4 separate regions of the Homo sapiens genome follow, and all the other regions are linked to region 4. Evidence: promoter capture Hi-C in 16 types of primary human blood cells and fetal thymus (Javierre and others, 2016). All regions are on one chromosome and are shown on one strand. The core of a region is centred on a gene start or on the middle of the fragment in contact, and the rest is flanking DNA. Distances in the headings are between cores, read along the strand shown. Region 1 overlaps STIM1 (stromal interaction molecule 1). Region 2 overlaps STIM1 (stromal interaction molecule 1). Region 3 overlaps NUP98 (nucleoporin 98 and 96 precursor). Region 4 holds the start of STIM1 (stromal interaction molecule 1).

Evidence for each region. The method cuts DNA at HindIII sites, captures the fragments that hold promoters and counts their contacts. A CHiCAGO score of 5 or more calls a contact.
Region 1: a fragment that was not itself captured here is called in contact with the fragment with the promoter of STIM1 in region 4 in 11 of 17 cell types (activated CD4 T cells, total CD4 T cells, naive B cells and 8 more); the score reaches 10.1 in activated CD4 T cells.
Region 2: a fragment that was not itself captured here is called in contact with the fragment with the promoter of STIM1 in region 4 in 17 of 17 cell types (total CD4 T cells, M0 macrophages, total B cells and 14 more); the score reaches 86.5 in total CD4 T cells.
Region 3: a contact is called between a fragment that was not itself captured here and the fragment with the promoter of STIM1 in region 4, in 1 of 17 cell types (naive CD8 T cells). The highest score is 5.3, in naive CD8 T cells.

The regions. Positions count from the first base shown.
Region 1 is chr11:4,018,119-4,020,818 of GRCh38, forward strand. The region is part of intron 2 of STIM1 (stromal interaction molecule 1); the gene reads left to right. It also overlaps the pseudogene RPS29P20. Among named protein-coding and RNA genes, the nearest start is that of RRM1, 75 kb to the right of the region's middle. The HindIII fragment of the contact is 6,145 bases long and covers 1-2,700 here.
Region 2 is chr11:4,068,659-4,071,358 of GRCh38, forward strand. It overlaps STIM1 (stromal interaction molecule 1), which reads left to right. Exons shown (of 13, transcript NM_001382567.1): 6 at 1,368-1,545. Among named protein-coding and RNA genes, the nearest start is that of RRM1, 25 kb to the right of the region's middle. The HindIII fragment of the contact is 4,183 bases long and covers 1-2,700 here.
Region 3 is chr11:3,709,456-3,712,155 of GRCh38, forward strand. The region is part of intron 20 of NUP98 (nucleoporin 98 and 96 precursor); the gene reads right to left. Among named protein-coding and RNA genes, the nearest start is that of CHRNA10, 39 kb to the left of the region's middle. The HindIII fragment of the contact is 1,287 bases long and covers 719-2,005 here.
Region 4 is chr11:3,854,343-3,857,042 of GRCh38, forward strand. STIM1 (stromal interaction molecule 1) reads left to right here and starts at 1,322. Exons shown (of 13, transcript NM_001382567.1): 1 at 1,322-2,067. The coding sequence starts at 1,929. It overlaps STIM1-AS1 (STIM1 antisense RNA 1), which reads right to left and starts at 1,236. Exons shown (of 2, transcript NR_183662.1): 1 at 1,015-1,236; 2 at 1-316. MIR4687 (microRNA 4687) reads left to right here and starts at 1,720; the gene lies at 1,720-1,799. RefSeq lists enhancers at 298-367, 577-1,522, 1,738-1,947, 2,098-2,177, 2,188-2,237 and silencers at 708-757, 1,238-1,297, 1,358-1,517. The HindIII fragment of the contact is 6,805 bases long and covers 1-2,700 here.

The sequences.
Region 1 (2,700 bases), core at 123-2,622, 160 kb after region 4:
AGCCTGACTAACATGGAGAAACCCCATCTCTATTAAAAAATACAAAATTGGCTGGGCGCGGTGGCTCACGCCTGTAATCCCAGCACTTTGGGAGGCCGAGGCGGGTGGATCATGAGGTCAGGAGATCGAGACCATCCTGGCTAACAAGGTGAAACCCCGTCTCTACTAAAAATACAAAAAAAAATTAGCCGGGCGCGGTGGCGGGCGCCTGTAGTCCCAGCTACTCGGGAGGCTGAGGCAGGATAATGGCGTGAACCCGGGAAGCGGAGCTTGCAGTGAGCCGAGATTGCGCCACTGCAGTCCGCAGTCCGGCCTGGGCGACAGAGCGAGACTCCGTCTCAAAAAAAAAAAAAAAAAAAAAAAAAAAACAAACAAAATTAGCCAGGAGTGGTGGTGCATGCCTGTAATCCCAGCTACTCGGGAGGCTGAGGCAGGAGAATTGCTTGAAACTGGGAGGTGGAGGTTGCGGTGAGCCAGGTTTGTGCCCCTGCACTCCAGCCTGGGCAATAAGAATGAAACTCTGTCTCAAAAAAAAAAAAAAAAAAAGGCATAAAAGGGGGATCTGTGTTCTGGAACCCTGTGGCTTCTTTGAGTTCATCTCCTGCTGGTTACCACCTTACTCATTTCTCTCCAACGATACTGGCCTTCTTGTTATTCCTTGAACATACCAAGTATATTCTCTTGCCTCAGGGACTTTGCTTCTGCCCTTCTCCATTCTTGGGATACTCTTCTCCCAGTTATTCTGCATGCCTTTCTCCCACACCTCTTTTAAATATTTGCTTTGAAGTCACCTTCTTATCTTTTGCCTTGTTGCACTCCTGAAGGCAAAATGGATCACAAGCAGCTCTGCTGGAGCCACCCACAAAAATCTGGCCAGAGTTCTCGCTCTTGTTGCATCTGCTCAAACCAGCATGGTCTGATCTGGAAATATAGCCTCAATATGTGCCTCCAGTGTTGCCATCAGTACGTGAAGGATATAGGTTTCATTAAATTGGACTAAGTGATCTTCCTTGAATGGATTATCCAAGGCATCCACACAATGAAAAATCATATTAGCTGTTTGTACATAAAATAAAAATGAAGAAAATGAAGTCAGCTTCTTAATGACACCTTGATTCCTCTCATTAAAATGACAAATTGTGAATACCACTACTCTTGGCATCTCCTATTCCTCTTCCCTGCTGTTTTTTTCTTTATTTAAATTATATTTTATTTAAAAACATTTTTAAAATTTTATTTTATTTGTAACTGATACATAACAGTTGTACATATTGGCCAGGCATGGTGGCTGACGCCTGTAATCCGAGCACTTTGGGAGGCTGAGGCAGGAGGATTGCTTGAGCTCAGGAGTTTGAGACCAGCTTGGGAAACATAGTGAGACACCGTGTGTACAAAAAATTTAAAAAAATAGCTCGGTACCGTGGTGCACACCCATAGTCCAAGTTACTTGGGAAGCTGAGGCAGGAGGATCACCCAGCCTGGGTGACAGAGCGAGACACTGTCTCAAAAACAACAACAACAAAAAACCCCACCAACCAACCAACCATCCAAAAAAATTGTACATATTTATAGGATACAGTGTGATGTTTTGATACATGTATACAATGTATAATGATCAAATTAGGGGGTAAAATTAGTATATCTGTCATCTCAAACATATATCATTTCTTTGTGGTGAACATTCAAAATCCTTTCTTCTAGCTATTTTGAAATATACACTATATTATTGTTAACTAAAATCACCCTACTGTGCAATGGAACACTAGAACTTATAAACTTACCCTCCCAACTGTAAATTTGTACCCACTGACCAATCTCTCCCCATCTCCCTGTCTACCCTTCCCAGATTCTGGTAACCACTATCCTACGTTCTACTTCTATGAGATCAGCTTTTTAAGATTCCATATATGAGTGAGAACATGTGGTATTTATTTTTTGTGCCTGGCTTATTTCACTTAGCATAATGTCCTCGAGGCACATCCATGTTGCCACAAATGACAGAATTTCATTCTTTTTTTCTTTATGGCTGAATGGTATGCTGTTGTGTAAATATACGACATTTTCTTTAAACATTCATTTGCTGATGGGCCCTGAGGTTGATTCTATATCTTGGCTATTGTGAATAGTGCTGCAATAAACATGGAAGTGAAGATGTCTCTTCAACATGCTGATTTCATTTCCTTTGGATGTGTACCGAATAGTGGGATTTCTGGATCATATGGTAGTTCTATTTTTCATGTTTTGAGGAACCTCCATACTGTTTTATATGGTGACTGTACTAATTTACACTGCCACCAACAGTGTGTAAGGGTTTCCCTTTCTCTATATCCTTGGCAGCATTTGTTATTTGTTATTTTTTTGGTAATAGCCATACTAACTGGGGTGAGATGATATCTCATTGTGGTTTTGATTTCCATTTCCCTGATGATTAGTGATATTGAGCATATTTTTCACATATCTTTTGGACTTTTTTTTTTCTTTTTTCTCTGAGACAAGGTCTCGCTCTGTCACCCAGGCTGGAGTACAGTGGCATGATCACAACTCACTACAACCTTGATCTCCCAGGCTCAAGTGATCCTCTGACCTCAGGCTCTAGCTTCAGCCTATAGCTGGGACCACAGGCATAAACCACCACACCTGGCTAATTTTTTTTTTTTAATTTTTTGCACAGGCGGAGTCTCCCTATGCTGCCCAGGCTGG
Region 2 (2,700 bases), core at 155-2,654, 210 kb after region 4:
GGAATAAACATATGAAGGACATGGCCACCACCCTGACCTAGTGACCCCCCTCCCTTGGGTGGAAATAGGATGTGTTAATCTGTCTTTGATCCCATCTCATCCCCATGTTCTGCTGCTCAGCCTTTCTGTGAGGAGCTATGATGGTAACTCTTCTTGTCAAACTATAGGCATCAGTATCATATGGTTTCTTTTTCTGGTGTCTTGACCTTCCCTTAACTTGGTGGCTCTACCTGGGTCCTTTTGGATTTCCACCAGCCCCATGTCCTTACTATGTCCAAGGATCATGCCAGTCCTACCTCCTTCTCTGCTGTTTAAGGGCAACTTGCTGTGCACAGAGGGTCATTAGCCCTGGCATAACTCCCTTTTTTCCCTCTTTCTCTGACTCCCACATCCAGGGCTCCTCTGAGCCCACAGCAAAACCTAGACAGAGGATGCAGGAGTAGCTGTCTCCTTCTTATAGTGCCCCTTTCAAGTCTTTTGTGCTGTGGCACAGAGCCCAGATCTGGTATACCAGGAACAATGTTAGTTCCAGAAATGCCTCTCTCCTGATTGGCTAAGTTTTTAGGATGTGGCTTTTGCTTTTTATCTTGTGGTGTCATTTCTTGTTTAACATTTAAATTTTGCTCTGGACAATGGGCATTCTTTGAACCCCAGCTGGTGGCTGGGGCCCTCGTGGTTCACTGAATTGCTACCAGGTGTTCTCTGAAAATAGCTCTGCCCCTCAATTTCTGGTAGGTATAATGTCTCATCCATATGAATGTATTCATGCTATCCTGTTCTAGAGTCTCTGGATTTCACAGTAGCCTAGAAATGTTCTCCATAGATTGAGACTTCTGGACCTTTCCCTGATCTGTGCCAAGAATGGCCTGGTAGTCCAGGATACCTAGTTCCTACAGTGACTTCAGTCCTACAGCCAGAACTGAGGCTTCTGGTGACATTGCTTTATATCCTTTATACCAGTCATCTCCATTTACCTACTGTGGAACTTTAGAATTGCTTACCCTGTATGACAGAAGCCACTACATCTTGGCATATGGGCTCATCCAGCCCAGAGATGGCTGGGGCATATTGAGAAGGCACTAGTTCTCTCCTCTTCACTGCATCTTAAGAAAGTGTGATTTAATAAGCATCCTGTATTGCTGTAAGGCCTCTCATTTCAAAACAAAGCCTTGGCTAGCAGAGAGATAGACATAGAGCTTACTGTAATAGTGTATGGCAAGTGTGTATCTAAGAAGAGAAACTAATTCCTTCTCAGTGGGAGAGTGTGTCTGTTATGGAAGGCTTCATAGAGGAGGGATGCAGTGGAGTCTGCAAGGCTAAGTGTGCAGTGGGCACCCTAACTCATCATGCCCTCCCCTCTCTGGCAGTGACTCGCCATAATCACCTCAAGGACTTCATGCTGGTGGTGTCTATCGTTATTGGTGTGGGCGGCTGCTGGTTTGCCTATATCCAGAACCGTTACTCCAAGGAGCACATGAAGAAGATGATGAAGGACTTGGAGGGGTTACACCGAGCTGAGCAGAGTCTGCATGACCTTCAGGAAAGGTAAGGCCTGCCCCTTCAGGAAAGGTGAGGCCCTGCCAGTTCTTGGGAACCTCCTATTTCCACCTGGGTGTGAGCCACTTGGCCCCTGAGACCTTGTCAGCATGGCAGCCCAGGCTGCATCATCCTTCCAAAACTGCATTGCAAGTTTAGGTTGCTGATATTCCAATTGCTATTGGGCAGTTATTCCTCCTGGGGAGAAACTTGTTTCTATCTTTTTTGCCTCTTAGCTTCAGAGGGAGAAATGTGTAGCTGCCAGAGGTCTTGAGCTTCCCATTGCTTGTTATGGGGTCATTCTTCCTTCTGCCTGTCTCTGGACTGCTTCTCCTAGCATATAAATAGATGTAATGAACTGTTCTTTACTGTTCCCCAAAGAAACCTCAAAACCTTCCTTCTTACTGTCCTTAGTTCTTTCTTATAAGGAGTCTAAATCTCATAAACACTAACTTGCTATATAACTTTGGATAAATTTCTTTCCCTCCCAGGATTTATTTCCTCATTGGTAATATGAAGGGATTGACCTTGGAGAATGCTAAACTCTCCTAGGAGAACACTTCCAACTCAGATGGTCTGGGATTCTGTTAAAATAAAATGTGACTTCAAAACTATGGCAGAAGATTTAACTGTGAAAAGAGAGTGCCCGTCAGTCAGTCAGTCAGTCCTGACGTCTAGGAACCAGTTCTGTGATGGCAGTTATGAGAAATTCACTGGTCCTGAGAAAAAAAACTTACACACCCACAAGAAGCAGCAGTGAGAGCACACTTAATGCAGACTTAGTTCCAGACTCAGCTTATAGGATAAGAATGCTAATGTCTAGAAAGACAAAGAGGTGGATGAGTGGATGTGGGACTCTGAGGAGGTAGCCTTTAAAGATGGGTAGCGAGGTCCTAGGTGTTAAGGTTGAGTGTATAGGGTGGGGTCAGATCCCTGGAACCTTAAGATGCATGTGGGGAAGTTAGTAGGATGCAGAAGGCAATAGAGAGTCAAATCAGGTTTTTTTGGTTGTTTTGTTTTCGAGAAGAGGAGAGGTCTATTCAAGACTGTCTTTTAGAAAATGATTCTGGAAGCCTAGGGACTCTAGTTGGGAAGTCTTTGCAGGAATTCATGTAAAAGGAAATGAAGTCTTGTCTTTTCATTTATTTCTATTTATTATTATTA
Region 3 (2,700 bases), core at 112-2,611, 140 kb before region 4:
GCACATTGGGAGGCCAAGGCAGGATACTCATTCGGCCAAGAATCTGAGACCAGCCTGGGCAACACAGCAAGATCCTGTCTCTAAAACAATAAATAAATAAATTAGCTGGCATGATGGCATGCACCTGCAGTCCCAGTTACTTGGGAGGTTGAGGTGGGAAGGATTGCTTGGTCCCAAGAGTTCAACCAGCCTGAGGAACATAGGAAAACTTTGCCTCAGAAAAAAAAAAAAAGTCATTAACTTAAATTCACTTAGTGAACAATGCTAAGTTTCTGAGCAAGCCAATTAGCCTGCCTTGATGTTACTGAACACAAGTTACACTTCAGTTATAAGGCTGAGGTACACTCTGGGGACTGTTGTGGGGTGGGGGGAGGGGGGAGGGGGGAGGGTATAGCTTTAGGAGATATACCTAATGCTAAATGACGAGTTAATGGGTGCAGCACAGCAGCATGGCACATGTATACATATGTAACTAACCTGCACACTGTGCACATGTACCCTAAAACTTAAAGTACAATAATAATTTAAAAAAAAAAAGTTTACAAAAAAAAAAAAAAAGGCTGAGGTAAAAACCTACACGTATCTCTACCTGAGTGCCAAAGGCCTGAGGTCTTTCAACATAGTTTTGAAACCTGATTGCACATTTCAACCACCTGGGGAGAAGCATTAAAATATAAATATGCCTGAGCCCCATGCCAAATCTGTGGAATCTAAGTCAAGCTTACCAGGGCATTGATGCAGCCAGCTGGAAATTGGATCCCAGACCAGGATTTTGAAACTAATGTTCTAACCACAGAACAAAATACTCTGCAACTACCTTAATTCATCTCTGTGACTAAGGTTTATCTGCCAACCAACATTTTCTCTAACCTAAAAGGTACAGGAGAGAAGATCACATGAAAATTTAGTTACCTTTATGTTTTCTGGTTGCTTAGATTTACTTGCTTTTTTTAAGAGCAAAAGCGAGGCTTAAGAACCAACTGGAAACAGGGGACTGACGATATTATATAAAAGGTAATGGAACAAATGTGACCATTAAAGAAAAATACACATCTTCCTAAATACCTAAAGAAACAGGCCTCTCTCCCCCAAGAAAAAAAGAAGCTGAAGTTTTGCAATCAACCTCTTTAAGGGGTGAGGTGATGGTATGCAGTCATCTTGACACAGAGATGAGAAGACTGCTATTTCCAGTATACTCAAACGGCACAAGTAGTTTCCCCATGCAAAGTAAAATGTAGGGTCTTTGGTGCTAATAACAAACCACTGGCATTTCCCATCAGCTTCACTTGGGTCAGTGAGCAATAAATATGAAAGAATTCTCTAGAGTCCTACATTTCTGCTCCAACATACCAAGCTCAAGGCCTTAGAAAATAATGCAAGTAAACAAAACCTAAAGTCTGGACATTTAAATACCTCTATCCATTTCTCTCATTTCTGCTCTTCCCAACCAAAAGGTCAAAGACCATTTCCACTTCCTCAGTCAAAGCTACTTGCCCATTTTAGGCTAGCCATGGTGACTCACGCCTGTAGTCCCAGCACTTTGGGAGGCCAAGGTGGGAGGATCACTTGAGGCCAGGAGTTCAAGACAACATGAGTTGAGGCCAACATGGCAAAATCCCCTCTCTACTAAAAATACAAAAAATTAGATGAGTGTGGTGGTATGCCCTGTAGTCCCAGCTGCTTGGGAGGCTGAGGAATGAGGCTGCTTGAACCTGGGAGGCAGAGGCCACAGAGAGCCGAGACTGCACCAGTGCACTACAGCCTGGGCGACAACTCTTTCTCAAGGAAAAAAAAAGCTACTTGCCCATTTTAAATCCTTACTACCTCTTTTTGCTAGAACCTTGATCTGAAATTTTTGGGTGCTCAATTTTTCAAAGAGCTCTCACAAACACAAGTGTCAATATAGGAGTTTATAGTTATTTTTCTACTATTTCTATTCTGGCAATTAAAGAACCTAGAAACTACTGTCAACATTACAAACATTTTCCTGTCTGTCCATAAATGAAGCTTTTCTTTTTCAGCTGGGCCAACTGGAAAGAGGTTATCTTTAAGATCCTACATATTACTTTTGTTACAGAAAATAAGGCCATCTGACTCTTTCCCTCAGAAATACATATATTTATAATAAATATATATATAAGGTTATAAAAAATTAGGAAAGAAGGAGATGATACAAAGCATATGACAGACAAAATGAATATGGATAACTGGAAAACCAAGTCTATAGCATTTCATTTGTCAATGGAGATTTCTTAGGGGCATTCTAAATGCTACCAAGATTATAAACATAAAAGTCAATATATTTCCAGTTTCCCACATTTATCATACCCTCCCCTCCCCTGTACGCGCAAACATGTATATACACACATTCTCCAGAAATGCCTCCTAAGAGATTATTTAATAAATCATAAAAACCACACATTTCAGCAGCCATAAGAATTATAGCATGGAAAATACCAAAGGTCTAGCTTTCAGCAGCTGAGAGGTAGAGGATGCTTTACAAAGAAATCCCGTATCAATGATACAAGTAATTGCGATAAACAATGTAGGCCCTAATCTCCCCAAGCCAAATAATAATTCATTTACATTCCCAAACTATTTTTCATAAAGATTATGTACTATTAAAATACAAATATCAAGGTTACCCGAAGTATAAGCAAACAACTTTAAAAAAATGGAGATTAAAAACCCTTTCAGAAA
Region 4 (2,700 bases), core at 72-2,571:
TTTTTATATCAACGGCCTAACCCTTAAGCCAGGCAGCTGTTGGGCAAATTCGTGTTCCCAGTCTTCAGGGGCCTTGCTCAGAACAGGTAGCTGGTTTAGCACTGTCAGTCAGAGGAGGGACTGGGCCTGATCCTTTCCCCTGCGTCTGGTGCCAAGGACAGGGTAGGGCACAGAGGTTTCAGTCAAGATCTGCTGACAGCACGCTTGAGAAGAGAACAGGAAGTGCAGGCTTTGTTGAAGGAGGCTCAGGCGTGGCTCTGTCTTCTTTGGCGCACTCATTCTCAAGTCGCTGACACCTCCTCCACCAGAGAGGTAGCTGGGAGAATGAGATGCAGGGAGGAAGCATTTACAGGCCCCACCGAAAAACCTTAAAGGGCTGAGAGCTTGAGGGCAGGTAGGAAAAAGGGCTGTGAGAGCTAAGGGAGGGCATCCCACTTAGCTTGGAGGGGAAGGGAGGCGGGGTCGGGAAAGCAGATGGCACCCTTTAGCCCAGACTCAAGGAATGTGTAGGGGAATTTTAGCTAGAGTGGTTTGGACATTTCATTTTGCTTTCTGGCATCATCATTTCCTCAGAAAACACTCGCAGGCCCCAGTGGCCCTCGTGGGCCTCCCCCGGGGCGGGTCTTAGCTTCACTCGGCAACCCTCTGCAAAAGAGCAGGCCCTCCCAGGAGCGCCGAGTCCTGTCTGCAGTTTGCTGATTTTCCCACCAGGGGCCGCTGCGCATGGGCGACGAAGCGCGCGGGTTCCCAAGCCGCAGAGAGGCGGAAGCCGATTGGTTGTCAGGCGAGGCGCGAGGGCGGAGCCTGGGAACTGGCCGGGAGTTGGGGGCTGGGAGCTCGCCCCCGGGCCGAGCCGGGTCAGGCTGTTGTCGCCTCAGGCAGCTCCTGGGAGGCTAACGTCGTGTCCTGGGCCTCTGTTTAGACAGCTCTAGAACTGAGGCGAGTGGAGCAGCACCAAGGCCCGGAGATCGGGGCAGGGCAGCTGCTGTCGCCGCCGCCGCAGGCCTGAGTTACCTGAGTAACTGCGGGTCAGGGACCCGCCCGACGGCCCGCGGTTGGCGCTGGAGACTCTCGGTGGGGAAAGGGAAGCTGGGACTTGATCCTTTGCGCGGGATCCTGGCAAAGACTAGCGCGGGCCGGGGGTCCGGGAGAGCCCGCTAGGGGCGGGGATTCCGGGGAGCCGTCTTCACCGGTTATTCCGGGATCCAGCTGGGCGCTGGGGCTGGCCCGGGCTTCGCTGGGGACCGGGCGGCGCGGGGCGGGCGCGGAGACGCACGCCCCCGCCCGCCCCGGGCCCGCCCCGCGCCGCCCGCCCGCCTGGAAGCCGCTGTCCTGGGCCTGGCCGGTGTGCGTCCGCCTGCTGGACCTGGGCACCGCCAGCCGCCTGGGCACGGGACTGGGCGGGGGCGCTGACCTCGGCCTAGGAGGCCCAGGATCCCGGAGACGCCCGCGCCCTCAGGACCCTGCGGGTCGCACGCCCTCCCCAGCTTCTGCTGCTCGCCGCTCTTCGGCAGGGCGAGGTCAGGTGCCCCCTTCTCGCCTCTCTTCTCTTCTCTTCTCTTCCTCCTCCACTTCTGTGCCCGCGGAGACTCCGGCCGCCCCCTTCCGCAGGGGTGTAGTAATCTGCGGAGCTGACAGCAGCCCCGCAGCCACCCTGCCCGAAGTCTCCGGAAGCGGCACGAGCTCAGGCCGCCGCAGCCCCGGCGGACCCACTGTTGGACCTGAGGAGCCAGCCCTCCTCCCGCACCCAAACTTGGAGCACTTGACCTTTGGCTGTTGGAGGGGGCAGGCTCGCGGGTGGCTGGACAGCTGCGGAGCCGCGAGGGCATCTTGCCTGGAGACCGTCGGCTGCACTCCCGGGCTCCTGGCTTTGCCTCTGGGATCCCGAGGTGTCCACATCAGACGCATGTTGACTGAGACCTAGAGTCATGGATGTATGCGTCCGTCTTGCCCTGTGGCTCCTCTGGGGACTCCTCCTGCACCAGGGCCAGAGCCTCAGCCATAGTCACAGTGAGAAGGCGACAGGAACCAGCTCGGGGGCCAACTCTGAGGAGTCCACTGCAGCAGGTAAGGCCTTGCTGCGGGCTGGACTGGGCTGGAGGCTTTGGCTCAGGACTGAGTGGCCCGAAGTGGGCAAGTTGAAATCTAGGTTTGTACATGTGAGGTTCATGGAGGATTCACACATGGCACTGCCTGTTCCAAGTAGTTCAAGAAGTTCTTTCTGGTCAGTAGTCATGGCAAATGCCTGTATCTTTCCTGAACAACTTTCCTCATCCCCCGCACTCAGGATTTTTTTTGTTGGCAGTAAGAAGAAGCCTTTGGGGCAACTTGACCTTTTAGATCAGCAAGGAAAGACCCCATCTTAGGCCTACTTGTCTGGAAGAATGGCCTGGTGAGATGATAAGTTCATTGCTCCTATTCGGTTTTAGTACTGAGCAGCATGGGGGAGGTTGGGGCCACTTATGTTGGAAAGGGAAAGTTAAGGCTGGGCCACCTCTGTTGCCTGAAAGCCTGGTGTTCAGGTGTGCCTATTCCAACAACCGTGGGAACCCTAGTCCCACCCTTCCCTTAGGTAGTCTTGTCTCTTTGCTGTGCGCATTTGAAATATCCAGGCGGTTTCTTAGATGGAATCCTATTTACAACTAGGGTGTTAAATGGCCTTTTCTTGACATAGACATGATATAATTCCTGGGACCACTT